4 separate regions of the Homo sapiens genome follow, and all the other regions are linked to region 4. Evidence: promoter capture Hi-C in 16 types of primary human blood cells and fetal thymus (Javierre and others, 2016). All regions are on one chromosome and are shown on one strand. Each heading gives the region's core, a stretch centred on a gene start or on the middle of the fragment in contact. The rest is flanking DNA. Distances are from core to core; before and after follow the strand shown. Region 1 has its middle 120 kb from the start of TMX3. Region 2 has its middle 96 kb from the start of TMX3. Region 3 has its middle 76 kb from the start of TMX3. Region 4 holds the start of DSEL (dermatan sulfate epimerase like).

Region 1 (3,374 bases), core at 615-3,114, 1.1 Mb before region 4:
ATAGTAGGTCTTTGCACAAGTAGTTGTAAAACATTTTCATTGTTTTTAAGAAAAGTTTTGTGAATAGTTACATCTCAAGTATACTCAGGGAGAAGTAGAGGAAGGTCCTTGTTAGCACTGTGTTAGTCAGGATCTTCCAGAGAAACAGAGCCCGTAGGATTTGTGCATCTTTCTATATCCTCTCCATCTCCACCTCATCTCCATTTCCATTTCCAAGTCCATCTCCATCTCTCTCCATCTCCAAGTCCATTTCCATCTCCATCTCTCTCCATTTCCATCTCTATCTCCATGTCTCTCTATCTCTCTCCATCTTCATCTCTCTCCATCTCCAAGTCCATTTCCATCTCCCTCTCTCTCTCTGTGTGTGTGTCTCTATGTCTCTCTCTCTCTCTATATATATATATACACACACACACACAAATGCTATTGTGTGTATATATAATGTATGTGTGTCTGTATATGTGTGTATATATACATATGTATATGCATGTATATTTACACACACACATTTATCTCTATACATATAGGGAGGGAGAGAGATTTCAAAGAGTTGGCTCACATGATTATGGAGGCTGGCAAGTCTAAGCTTTGCAGGGTGGGCTGGCAGTCTGGTGACCCAGAGCAAAGCTGATGCAGCAGTTCAAGTTCATGTTCAAGCAGTTCAAGTCTGAAGGTCATCCACTGCCAGAGTTTTGCTCGGGGAAGATCTGTTGTTTTCTATTAAGGCCTTCAACTCACTAGATGAGACTCACACTCATTATGGAGGGCAAACTGTTTTACTTAAAGTCCACAGATTTAAGTGTAAATCTAATCCAAAACCATCCTCACAGAAACATCCAGAAGAGTGTTTGAACAAATATCTGAGCAGTGTGGTCCAGCCAGGTTGACACATCAAGTTAATGGTGAGAACCCTTGGAGGAACAGGTGCCTAGGAAGATGCTGCAGCCTGGAAGAGCCTGAGGGGTCTGCTGGCTCCGGCTGGTCAGAGGTTTGGAGAGACGTTGGCTGGAAAAATGCCCTGTGATCATAGGGGTGGATTTGCAGAGCAAAAAAGCAATGCTTGGGAATTCACTGAAATTTCCATGAGAGGAGTACGTAACAGAACAAACACAAGGAGGAAACACTAGACAAATTTTATTCCTCAGTCATTCGTGTAACAAGGTGGCGTGTGGTTGTTAATTTTGGTTATTATTTCAACAAACTAAAGCTTACAGAAAAGCTGCAAGAACAGTAAAGGTAATCTTTTTTTTCCCCAGAATCATTTCAGTATGCATTGCAATATGATGTCCTATCATGCTCCAAAGCTGTTATTTCCTGTAAACAAAAACATCTTCTTGCATAACTACAATTTTGCCATCAAAATAAGGAAATCGACATCACTCTTACTATCTAGTTCTCAGAGATCAAGTAAGTTTTGCCAATTTTTTTCATAATGTCCTACACAGCAAAAGAATTCATGTCCTGAATCTTCTGTTGTATTTGTCAATTTTCTTTAGTTGTCTTCCATTTATAATTTTCCTCAATTTTTTTTCTGGATTTTCATGACCTTGACATTTTGAAGATTACAGACCAGTTCAATAAGTGTGTCTCAATCTGGGTTTGACGAATGTTTCATCATAATGAGATCCTAGTTACACATGTGTCTTAGTTCAGGCTACAGTAGCAGAATACAATAAGCGGAGGGCCTTAAACAACAGACATTTATTTTTCACAATGCTGGAAGCTAAAATCTGAGATCAGAGTGCCAGCAGGTTGGGTTCTGGTGAGAGTCCTTTTCTGGTGGTAGGGACTGACTTCTCCTTTATCTGTCTCCTTTATGAAAGAAAGAGGGCAAGAGAGCTCTCAGGGGCCATCCATTGTATACAGGCAATAATCTCATTCATGAGAGCTCCACCCTTGTTACCTAATTATTTCCCAAAGGCTTCACCTCCTAATACTGTCACTTTAGGGGTAAAGATTTCAACATGTGAATTTTGGGTTGACACAAAAATTTAAACCATAGCAGAATGTTTGACAAGGAGGTCAAAGAAGAGATGCTTCCTGATTGTCCCTATAAGTGGCACACATTTTGATTTGTCCCTTTATAGTAGAACACTTGGTTAAGGTGATGTCTTCCCAGCTGCTCTATTATAAAATTGTTATTTTCCTCTTTAAATAAAATGATTATTACATTTGCTTTGAGAAGTGCTTGTTTTTACTATATGTTGTGTTGTCAACATTTTTTCACGATGTTAAAACTCGTAAATTTTTTTAATGCTGTTAGTTTCCTACTGTATGAATATACAACTGTGTATGTCTGCATATTCCTATCTATATTGTTTTTAACTTAACAATGTGTCACTATTAATAGGATATCGAACACGTTTTTAGCATTGATTTTTACCTGTGATTTTCATTGTAAATCACGGATGTTTTACATTTGTAATTTGCAATGTGAAGTGACACAAATGCATAGAAGACACTAAAAGGTAGTTGGTAGATTATAAAACTAGGCTTCTAAGAACTGTTGAAAAGAAGCTTTAATAGTTATTGGACATATGAGACATCACAGATAATTAATTTGCTTAAATGATCAATTTTGTCTTTAAAATGTGTTCTCTCAAACATTAGAATACGCATTTAGAGAAAATTAGGGGGTGCATTTTTTTTATTCAAATAAAAAATAAACCTGTACAACTTATAATAATTAAGAAGGTATACCAACAATGCTTTAATTATATTTTACGATTATGCAAGTGCTGCAATATTTGGAAGTTTGGTAGACTAAGACTATATAATGAAGGAATCTCTTGTTGTGTAGGTTAATCACCATTGTATCAGGAAGCAATTCTCCACACCCCTCTCTAGATGTTATTGCAGTGGCTTACAACCCTGCTGGGAGCTCTTCATCTTCTTTCTAAGACTACTGCTGAGTTATTCTCTATTGCCACAGGCAACATACTGAATGAGATGATTCTGTGTCAGGGGTTAAGTATCAAAAATTATAGAAACTAAAGGGTTGCGGAATTTATTTTTATGGAAATTATTGCACACTTATAAGTTTTTTGTCTAAAATAACAAAAGGACATGTGAAAATTAGGTATTTCATAAAGGATATAAAGATTTGTGTGTAGAAAAATAACATTCAGTTTATGTAAATAGAGGAATAATATCAAGGAGTAGAATAATTGGACTCGTATTCTTTACATCTGGAATGTTAATTAGAATTTGAAATATTAAGTATTCCTTTTATGCACACTATTTTTATGTTTTTTTCATCTTTTTATAAATGTAATAGACACATTTTAAAGCCTGGGCATTTATATCTGTGAAATATCACAAACTCAATGATTTCAGTAGGTAAAAGAAAGAGATGTCAATGAAAATTTCTTTTT
Region 2 (3,203 bases), core at 511-3,010, 1.1 Mb before region 4:
CCAGTATCATGATGTTTTTGTTATTGTAGCCTTGTAATATAGTTTGAAGTAAGGTAGCATAATACCTTCAGCTTCTTTCATTTTGCTTAGGATTTTTTTGGCTATACGGGCTCTGTTTTGATTCCATATGAATTTTAAAGTAGCTTTGTTTTTTAATTCAATGGTTAATTTAATTAATTAATCCATTGAATTAATTCAATGGAAGAATGTCAGTGGTAGTTGAATGGGAATAGTATTGAATCTATAAATTACTTTGGGCAGTATGGCCATTTTCATGATACTGTTTCTTCCTATCCACGGGCATGAAATGTCTTACCATTTATTTGTGTCCTCTCTTACTTCCTTGAGCAGAGGTTTGCAATTCTTGAAGAGGTCCTTCACATCCCTTGCTAGTCGTATTCCTAGATATTTTATTCTTTGTAACAATTGTGAATGGGAGTTCATTTATGATTTGGCTCTCTGCTTGTCTACTGTTGGTGTATAGGAATGCTTGTGACTTTTGCCCATTTATTGTGTATCCTGAGATTTTGTTGAAGTTGCTCATCAGCTTACGGAGCTTTTGGGCTGAGACGATGGGGTTTTCTAGATATAGGATCATGTTGCCGGCAAACAGAGACAGTTTGACTTCCTCTCTTCCTATTTGAATACCTTTCTTTCTCTTGCCTGATTACCCTGGCCAGAACTTCCAATAATATGTCAAATAGGAGTGGTGAGAGAGGGCATCCTGTCTTGTGCCGGTTTTCAAGGGGAATGCTTCCAGCTTTTGCCCATTCAGTATGATATTGGATGTGGATTTGTCATAAATGGCTGTTATTATTTTGAGCTATGTTCCACCAATACTTTGTTTATTGAGCGTTTTTAGCATGAAGTGTGGATCACAAGGTCAAGAGATCGAGACCATCCTGGCCAACATGGTGAAACCGCATCTCTACTAAAAATACAAAAATTAGCTGGGCGTGGCGGCACGCACCTGCAGTCCCAGCTACTCGGGAGGCTGAGGCAGGAGAATCGCTTGAACCCAGGAGGTGGAGGTTGCAGTGAGCTGAGATCGCGCCACTGCACTCCAGCCTGGGCGACAGAGCCAGACTGTCTCAAAAAAAAAAAAAAAAAGTTATTATACTTTATTTTGTGAGTAGTTTAAGTTTTATAGAAAAATTGTACATAAAGCACAGAATTCTAATTTACTCTTTAACTCCTCCAGTTTCCCCTATTATAAACATTTTCCATTAATGTGATACATTTTGTAACAATTGATGAGCAAATATTGACACATCAACTAATGCCCATAGTTTGTATCAGGGCCTACTCTTTGTGTGGTACATTTTATGGGTTTTTGACCAATGTATAATGACATGTATCCACAATTACAGTATCCTGTAGAATTGTTTCACTGCTCTAAAATCCCCTTGTGCTCCACCTAGTCATCCCTTACTTTCTCCCTCCAAACCCCTGGCAACAACTAATTTTTCTTTTTTTCTAACTGTTTCCATAGTTGCCATTTCCAGAAAAATCACACAATTGGCATCATGCAGTATGTAACTTTTGCAGACTGGCTTCTTTCATCTAGCAATGTTCATGTACATTTCATCCATGTCTTTTTCATGGCTTGATGGCTAATTTCTTACAAGTGCTGAATAATAGTCCACTGTATGGATATACTGCAGTTTATTTATTAATCCACCTATTGAAGGACATCCGTTTGCTTCCAAATCTTGGCGATTACGAATAAAGGTGCTATAAAATTTCAGTGCAGGTTGTTGTGTGATCCTAAGTTTTCAATTAATTTGGGTAAATACCAAGGATCATGACTGCTGGACTCTATGGGTAAGAGTATGTTTAACTTTGTAAGAAATTTTCAAACTGTTTTCCAAAGTGTCTGTACCATTTTGCATTCCTACCAGCAGAGAATAAGAATTCCTATTGCTCCTTATCCTCAACAGTATTTGGTTTTGCCAATGTTTTGGATTTTAGCTACTCTGAGAAGTATATAGCAGTATTTAATTGTTGCTTTAATCTGCAATTTACTGATGATATATGATGTTGAGCATCTTTTAATATGCTTATTTGCCATCTGTTATCTTCTTTGGTAGGATGTCTGTTGAGACCTTTTGTGCATTGTTAAATTGGGTTGTTCATTTTCTTCTTATTGTTGAGATTTAAGAGTTCTTTGTACTAGTCCTTTATCTGATATTTGTTGTGCAAATATTTTCTCCCAGTTTGTGGCTTGTCTTTTCACTCTCTTAATGTTGTCTTTTACTGCCGGGTACCGGTGGCTCACGCCTGTAATCCCAGCACTTTGGGAGGCCGAGGTGGGTGGATCACAAGGTCAGGAGACCAAGACCATCCTGGCTAACACGGTGAAACCCCGTCTCTACTAAAAATACAAAAATTAGCCAGGCGTGGTGGTGGGCGCCTGTAGTCCCAGCTGCTGGGGAGGCTGAGGCAGGAGAATGGCATGAACCCAGGAGGCAGAGCTTGCAGGGAGCCAAGATCGCACCACTGCACTCCAGCCTGGGCGACAGAGCGAGACTCCATCTCAAAAAAAAAAAAAAAAAAAATTCGTCTTTTACAGGATAGAATTGTGTGTTTTCAAATGATATGATTTATAGGAGAAGACAGTGTAGTCCCAAGGTCATATCTCATAGGGATGTGATAAGGCCCACCCAATCACCAAGTTACTTTCGTTAAAAGAAACAGGGACCCTAGGCTAGTGGCTATGTCTGTTTTTCCCTTGTTCAGGTTTCACTTTGTCAGAAAAAAATGAACTAATTAGGTTTTTCTTCTAAAACTGCCTTCCAACCCAAATTTGTAAGAAGTTTTGGCTTTTGATTTTACTGTTTATTTTTTCTTTTTGGATCAGTTTCAAGTGAACTTTTTATGTTCAGTAACTCTAGGTGTGACTGGAAGCAGGAAAAAAAAACTTTTAGGAAAAAGAGCCATTAATTTTCTTACTATTCTATCATTAGCAGAAAGTGTCCTGTCAGGAGGCAAACTTGAAAACTCACATTAAGAGAGGATACTTACTGAGGTGTATCAATATAATTGCACCTGCATCTTATCAAAGAAACCAAAGATTAAACCATCTGACTCCTAAGTATTAAAAACATGCAAAATAGAGTCAGCAACATAAGCTAGTCCCTTCCAGTCGAATGCATTTGATTTGCAAAGTGCATAAAATGTTTTCACACTCTGAAATCATTTTC
Region 3 (3,560 bases), core at 209-2,708, 1.1 Mb before region 4:
TTTTCATATTATTTTTAAAAATTGTAATGTAATGAGAGAAAGGTAAATCTCCTTTGATTTTGCAAAAGAGGTTAGATGTCACTTATTATGCTAATTAGCCATTCTATTTCTTCTTTGGTAAAGTGTTCATTTTGTTTTTAGTTCTTTCTATTTTCCTGTGTCAATTTCATTATTTTCAGCCTTACCATATTCTTCTGATTTGATGTATACTTGTGCAGAGAATGCTTTTTTATTTTAGTATTTTAACCCTGTTTGACAAGTCAATGTTATTTGAGATAATTTGATACTTACATTTATTAAATTAGTGCCAATCATCATTGCTCTTATTATTGATACTTACCTGATATTTTCTGTTTGTAAGACTTTCTCGTGTTTAATGTCTTTCCTTTCATTTCAGCTTTTTGCTCCATTATTAGAATTCCCTCTTTTTGATTCCTCTGGTGATCTGGATGCTCTCCATCCTATTCCAATTATTTTAGGAGATGTTTAAAAAATTTATTTAAACATACCACAGTTGGTATCAAATCAAAGACTATCTAGGATTTTAAACTAATGTCTTTTTTCAAAGGAATACTTTCTTAACAGTTGCGATAATAATTCTGGCTGCAATTGCTATTGTGATGTATTTTTATATTATTTCTCCTATGTTACGCTTTTTTCTCTTGGAGTCCTTTCTCATTTTTTCCAAAATAAATCAAGTTATTGAGTTTTTAATCCAATTAGGGGAATAAATAATAGTCTTTCTTTGTACTTTTATATCGGGAATGTCATCATTTTATCCTCAAATTTCAATGAGAGTTCAAACATACTATTTTAGATTCTAGCAGGTTTTCCTTCAGAATTTTAAAAATGTTTCTTCCCTAGATTTCTATATAAGAAATGGAAATATTCTTATAATTTGGAGTAATCTATTTTTACATTAACCTTTTTATTTTGAGGTAATTGTAGACTTGCATGCAGCTGTAAGTAATAACAGAGAGATGAGTGGTGGGGAAAATGACAGATAGGAGACAGGATTAAATAGCAGCTCCCACTTGGGAGGACAGAGCAGTGTGTGGAGACTCACATCGTGAACTTTTTCTCCAAGAGCTACTACAGGAATACATCAGGAAAGCTGAGAGAATCCATAGACCCTTTGAAGGAAGTGGATTCCTCCTGTAGGACCCAGGAGACGGCCCAAATACTGTGAGTGCCCAAACTGTGAAAGTGGGAAAGAGGGATCGGATCGTCTGCCCCTAAACACCCTCACTGGGGAACCTGAAGGCCTAGATCATAGGAGAAGGATATGATCTTACCCGGAGCTGAGTCAATTTAGAAAGCTGAGTGAAATACAGTGGTAGAGGAAACAGCAGGAAAAGCCCTGTGGACTCTCTGGGTCCCCAGGGAAGCCATTTCTGACTTGTATCTCTGGAGTCCTTGGGGAGGGCTGCCAGAGGAACTGGGAAAAGACCACAGGGGGAAGGAAACCTCCAACTGGACTTTGTAACAATTCCAACCGAATGCGAAGTCTCCTGGCCAGAACTCAGGGGAGGGCATGAATCCAGTGTGCAGACTCAACAGATAGGGAGGCCTGAAAGCCCTGCTTGCTTTCTCAGCTGGGAAGCTGGTAGCCTGGGGCAAGTTTTCAGCCCTGCTCTCCCACTGCCTGGAAACAAACTCCGTGCTGTTGTGGGGGAACGGTGGGAATGAGACTGGACTTTTGGGTTGCGTGGGAGCTGAGTGAAGCCTGTAACTGCTGGCTTTCCCCCACTTCCCCGACAACCTACATGACACAGCAGAGACAGGCACAATCCTTCTGGGAACATAACTCCATTGACCTGGAAACCACATGCCCATCCCCCACAGCAGCTACAGCAAGCCCCACCCAAGGAGAATCTGAGCTCAGACATGCCTAACCCTGACTGCACCTGATGGTCTTTCCCTACCACCCTGGTAGCTGAAGACAAAGGTCATATTATCTTGGGAGTTCTAGGATCCCTCCCACTGCCTGATCTTCCCTATACTACCACAGCTGATGCTCTCTTGAAAGTGTCACCTCCTGGCAAGAGGCACACCAGCACAAAACTAGTGCACTAAAGAACTATAACTAACGACCCAACTAAGAGTCCATTTCACTTCCCTGCCACCTCCACCAGAGCAGGTGCCAGTATTCATGCCTGAGAGACCTGAAGACTGTTCACATCACAGGACTCTGTGCAGACACCCCTTTACCAGCTCAGAGCGAGGTAGGACTGATGGTTAGCTAGATCAAAAAGAAAAATAACAGTCACTACAGTTTGGCTCTCAGGAAGCCACATCCCTAGGGAAAGGGGGAGAGTAGTACATCAAGGGAGCACTCTGTGGGAAAAAAGAATCTGAGCAGCAACCTTGAGCCCCAGATCTTCCCTCTGACATAGCCTACTCAAATGAGAAGGAACCAGGAAAACAATTCTGGTAATATGGATCACACTAGTTCACCAGCAATGGATCCAAAAAATCACACTAGCTCACCAGTAATGGATCCAAACCAAGAATAAATCCCTGAATTACCTGGAAAAGAATTCAGAAGGTCAATTATTAATTTAATCAAGGGGGCACCAAAGATAGGTGAAGTCCAACTTAAGGAAACAAACAAACAAATGACACCAGATATGAGGGGAGAAATCTTCAGTGAAATAGATAGCATAAATAAAAAAAAATCACACCTTCAGGAAATAAAGGGCACACTTAGAGAAATGCAAAATATACTAGAAAGTCTCAGCAATAGAATCGAACAAGCAGAAGAAAGAACTTCAGAGCTTGAAGACAAGGTTTTCGAATTAGCCCAATCCAACAAAAAGAAAAAACAATTTTAAAAAATGAACAAAGACTCCAAGAAGTCTGGGACTATACCCAAGAATAATTGGCATTCCTGAGGAAGAAAGAAAATCTAAAAGTTTGGAAAACAAATTTGGGGGAATAATTGAGAAAAACTTCTCTGGCCTTGCTAGAAACCTAGACATCCAAATACTAGAAGCTCAAAGAACACCTGGGAAGCTCATGGCAAAAGTATCATCACCTAGGCACATTGTCATCTGGTTATCTAAAGTCAAGATGAAGGAAATAATCTTAAGAGCTGTGAGGCAAAAGTACAGGGTAACCAATGAAGGAAAACCTATCAAATTAACATCAGATTTCTCAGCAGAAACCCTACAAGCTAGAAGGGATTGGGGCCCTATCTTCAGCCTCCTTAAAAAAAAATATATCAGCCAAGAATTTTGTATCCAGTGAAACTAAGCTTCACAAATGAAGAAAAGATACCATTTTTTTCCAGAAAAACAAATGCTGAGAGAAACCAAAACTACCAAGCCAGCACTACACAATTGCTAAAAGGAGTCCTAAATCTTGAACTAAATCCTGGAAACACATCAAAGCAGAACCTCCTTAAAGCATAAATTTCACAGGACCTATAAAACCGAAATACAATAAATAAATTTAAAAAACAAGGTATTCAGGCAACAAATAGCATGATGAATGGAATAATACCTCACATCTCAATACTCACATTGAACGTAAATGGCCTACATACTCCACTTAAAAGA
Region 4 (3,155 bases), core at 314-2,813:
GAATATAGGTACAAATGATATAGTTCTGGAGTAATACATTCTGGCTAGGGAAACTTAGGAGTTATTTACAGAAGAATGTAAGCATCTGAGTTGAGACCTGGATGATCAGATAATTTCAACAGTCAGAAGAATTTTAACTAGTAAGTGGGGTGGTTGGGTAAAGGACACTGTGAGGGAAAGAATGGAATAAGCATAGTTACTGAAGCACCCAAGCAAAAGCAAGTGTGGCTATTTGGACTGGGCTAGGGGTTACTACGGGGCCAAAACAGAAGAGTGATGAGGAGTTAGAGGCCACATTTCACCTCAAAGTTAAATGATTTGAAATTTATTCTGCTAGCAGTCGTCTACTGTTTGATTTTCAGCAGCAAATGATCTAAGCAAGACATTTATTTTTAAAATGTTAAAATATATCTTATTAAATATTACCAAAATAGTATGGGAAATGAAGAGACTGAATGTGTTACTAATCCCCAACTGAGAATGGAATTGTTCATTTGTGAAGCTTGATATTTCCCTGTATTTTTATTACTACTAAGCTATTATTTTTTACATTTGAGGTCAGAGCTTGGGTTGGTTTATGCCAAAGTGTCATCTCAGCTATCTGTGAGAAGCTCCATGTGTGGAGTGCAACAGGAGTCCCAGCCTGCTCTAGGATTTCCACGACCTGGCACTGCACTCACATGTCGTAGTAGCCGGGGCACACTGCCTTCTCCTGTCTGCATGTAGGTCTTTACCGAATACCAGGTCCCATTTTTAAATAAGAGGCTCCTTCTACTTGTTTGTCCCATGCTTCCCCTATTTATACTGCCTGAGAAATTGTTTTCCATCAGTAAAGCTGATTAGTCTTTTCTGTTTTCCCTTGATCTTTGTTAGCATCTGGGCTACAGAAGTTGTCCTCCTATATTAATCTGGGTATTTCGGTTTTGCTTTTCCAAAGGACAGCAAGCTCAGCCAGGCTGCCTCTCAGTTCCAAGGGAGTGCTCATTCCCTCCTTCCCCAGCCCTTGCTCTTTCCAAAAGGATGATTTCTGTCGTCCCAGGGCTTATCCCCTCCCACTCCAGCTCCTCCCATCATTTGAGTCAATCCCACAGCCCCCACTATGGCTCTATTATATAGTTGTCGTCTTCCCATAACCAAAAGGTTTTAACGCCAGCCTGGCAGCGTCTTTAGACTCTCGCACTCCCAAACTGTCCCCTCCTCCAGCTCGACTCCTCCGGGAGCGCGCGGCCACCGCTGCAAGCCCAGAACACAAACGCCTAGAGCTTCCTCCGCTTAGAAACCCGGGGCGCTTGGCCCCGCCTCACCTGCTTTCGGCCCCGCCCCGCCCGCCGCCGGCCTGCTCACGGCTCCTCCCGTCCTCCCCGAAGCCCCGCCTCTGACCCCGCCCTGTCCTGTCTCCGTCCCGCCCCACGCCCGCCAGCCAGCGTCGCTGTCTCTCGCCTTCCCTGAGGCCCCGCCTTCAGCCCCGCCTTCAACCCCGCCCCGTCCTGCCTCCGCCCCGCCCCCGCTTGCCGGCCCGCGTCGCCGTCTCACCCTCCCCGGGCTGCGCGGCCGGAGCTGGCACAGAGGATCCTCGGCCGCGGCGACATCACCGCCTGGGCACGCGGGCGCTGCTCTGGATACGGCGCCACCGAGAGAACCCGCCGCCCGCGGGTCTCTGTCCTGCGGTCCGTGGTTGCCCCCACAAGCGTCCGGCGTTTCCTGAGGGCGGGCGTGTCCGGGCCGTGCGGGTCGCGGGGACCGAGCGCGGCTGAGGAGACCGAGCTGGGGCAGCGCCTGCCGTAGCGCGGGAGACGACGCGGGGGTCTTGCGGAGCCCCGCGGGAGCCTGGCCCGCCGTGCAGAGCAGTTTTCTGGAACTCTCCACCTCCGTCTCCCTTGGGGCCCAGTGCGGCGCCGAGCCCCCGTCGGGATCTGCCTGAGGTAAGCGGACTTGGTGGCTCAGGGGTCTCTCGCCATCCTGCCTCACTCAGCCCCAGAGCGGGGAGCGGAGAATGGGGGCGGCAGGGTCGGAGGACGCCAGTGAAAAAATGCAACAGGCGGGGCGGATCAGGAAACTCCTAGCCTGAATGTTTCCTACAGAGGGGAGACTTGTCCAAGACTGAAACTTGCTTAGGTTCTTCCAGCCGCGGACGGGCACGGAGAGGCGTCTTTCGACACCGGGGTCCGAGCTCCCTCTGGCGGCTCCACCTGAGGACAGGGACTCGGCCACAGGTGAGCGCCGAGCGCGGAGCTCCCGCCCCTCGGCTTGGCGCCTGGTCACGATTCGCGGTTACCCCGCCGAGAAAAGTGACTGGTCCGAGTAGTTCTCATTAGGAAGATACCTTCTGATCCCATGAACTCTAAACCTTCCCCCGGAATTAAAAAAAAAAAAAAAAAAAAAGATCTTTTCAACTTTCAGTTTTTTGTCCCTCGGTCCTTGGGAACAAGAAATAACAAGGATAGCAGGACTCATCTTTGTGTAAACTGCATTTGAATACAAACATTTTTTAAGTGACTGAAGCCACGTTAGTGGCGTTAAACTATAGATATTGTCGGGAGAGTTCTATCTTGTATATTTTGTATTGTTAGTTGCTTGTCTTCTGCTGACGGTCACTGGTTTCCAAATAAGTGCGTGTAAATGGATAAGAAAAAAATCACTTGCCCTAGCTTAGGTTGCAGATAATATGAGATTTTACTGTGATTCTAAAATTTCTATTAAGTGATTGCAGAATGTTTAAGTCATCAGTTTATATTCATTCTCAGCATACCTGAAGCCTCAGAGAATTTTTATTTTGTCCCCCATCCCCAGAAAAGTGTCATGAAAAAAGAGCAGAAGAGAGACCTCACTGTTGCTGAAAGGGGAATTTTCTTTCCCCGTTGGCGGTTACTTCATGATCGGACGAGAAGTATCTAGGTGACTGAAGATATTCCATTTTTATGTTTGTACACATGAAGCTGATAAAAGAAGATGTGAACATGATTTCTCTTTGTCATAATAGGCTGATGAGTAAGTAAGCCTGAAAAATATTTGAAATGAAGGCAAGAATTTTGAATTTTTAAAAACCAACTAAGACTTTGATCACTTGTTGAGGATGTTTCTCTCTCATAAATGAAAGAAAAACGTATTCACAAGACAAGAAGTATAAAAAGTTGAGAGGAATGACAACTGAGTCC

Evidence for each region. The method cuts DNA at HindIII sites, captures the fragments that hold promoters and counts their contacts. A CHiCAGO score of 5 or more calls a contact.
Region 1: a fragment that was not itself captured here is called in contact with the fragment with the promoter of DSEL in region 4 in 1 of 17 cell types (total B cells); the score reaches 5.5 in total B cells.
Region 2: a contact is called between a fragment that was not itself captured here and the fragment with the promoter of DSEL in region 4, in 8 of 17 cell types (endothelial precursors, naive CD8 T cells, total B cells and 5 more). The highest score is 8.8, in endothelial precursors.
Region 3: a fragment that was not itself captured here is called in contact with the fragment with the promoter of DSEL in region 4 in 4 of 17 cell types (megakaryocytes, endothelial precursors, total CD4 T cells and 1 more); the score reaches 6.2 in megakaryocytes.

The regions. Positions count from the first base shown.
Region 1 is chr18:68,595,720-68,599,093 of GRCh38, reverse strand. No RefSeq gene overlaps it. Among named protein-coding and RNA genes, the nearest start is that of TMX3, 120 kb to the left of the region's middle. The HindIII fragment of the contact is 1,310 bases long and covers 1,210-2,519 here.
Region 2 is chr18:68,617,201-68,620,403 of GRCh38, reverse strand. No RefSeq gene overlaps it. Among named protein-coding and RNA genes, the nearest start is that of TMX3, 96 kb to the left of the region's middle. The HindIII fragment of the contact is 8,753 bases long and covers 1-3,203 here.
Region 3 is chr18:68,636,874-68,640,433 of GRCh38, reverse strand. No RefSeq gene overlaps it. Among named protein-coding and RNA genes, the nearest start is that of TMX3, 76 kb to the left of the region's middle. The HindIII fragment of the contact is 3,600 bases long and covers 1-3,258 here.
Region 4 is chr18:67,515,128-67,518,282 of GRCh38, reverse strand. DSEL (dermatan sulfate epimerase like) reads left to right here and starts at 1,563. Exons shown (of 2, transcript NM_032160.3): 1 at 1,563-1,922; 2 at 2,791-3,155. DSEL-AS1 (DSEL antisense RNA 1) reads right to left here and starts at 1,737. Exons shown (of 5, transcript NR_033921.1): 1 at 1,534-1,737. The HindIII fragment of the contact is 6,208 bases long and covers 505-3,155 here.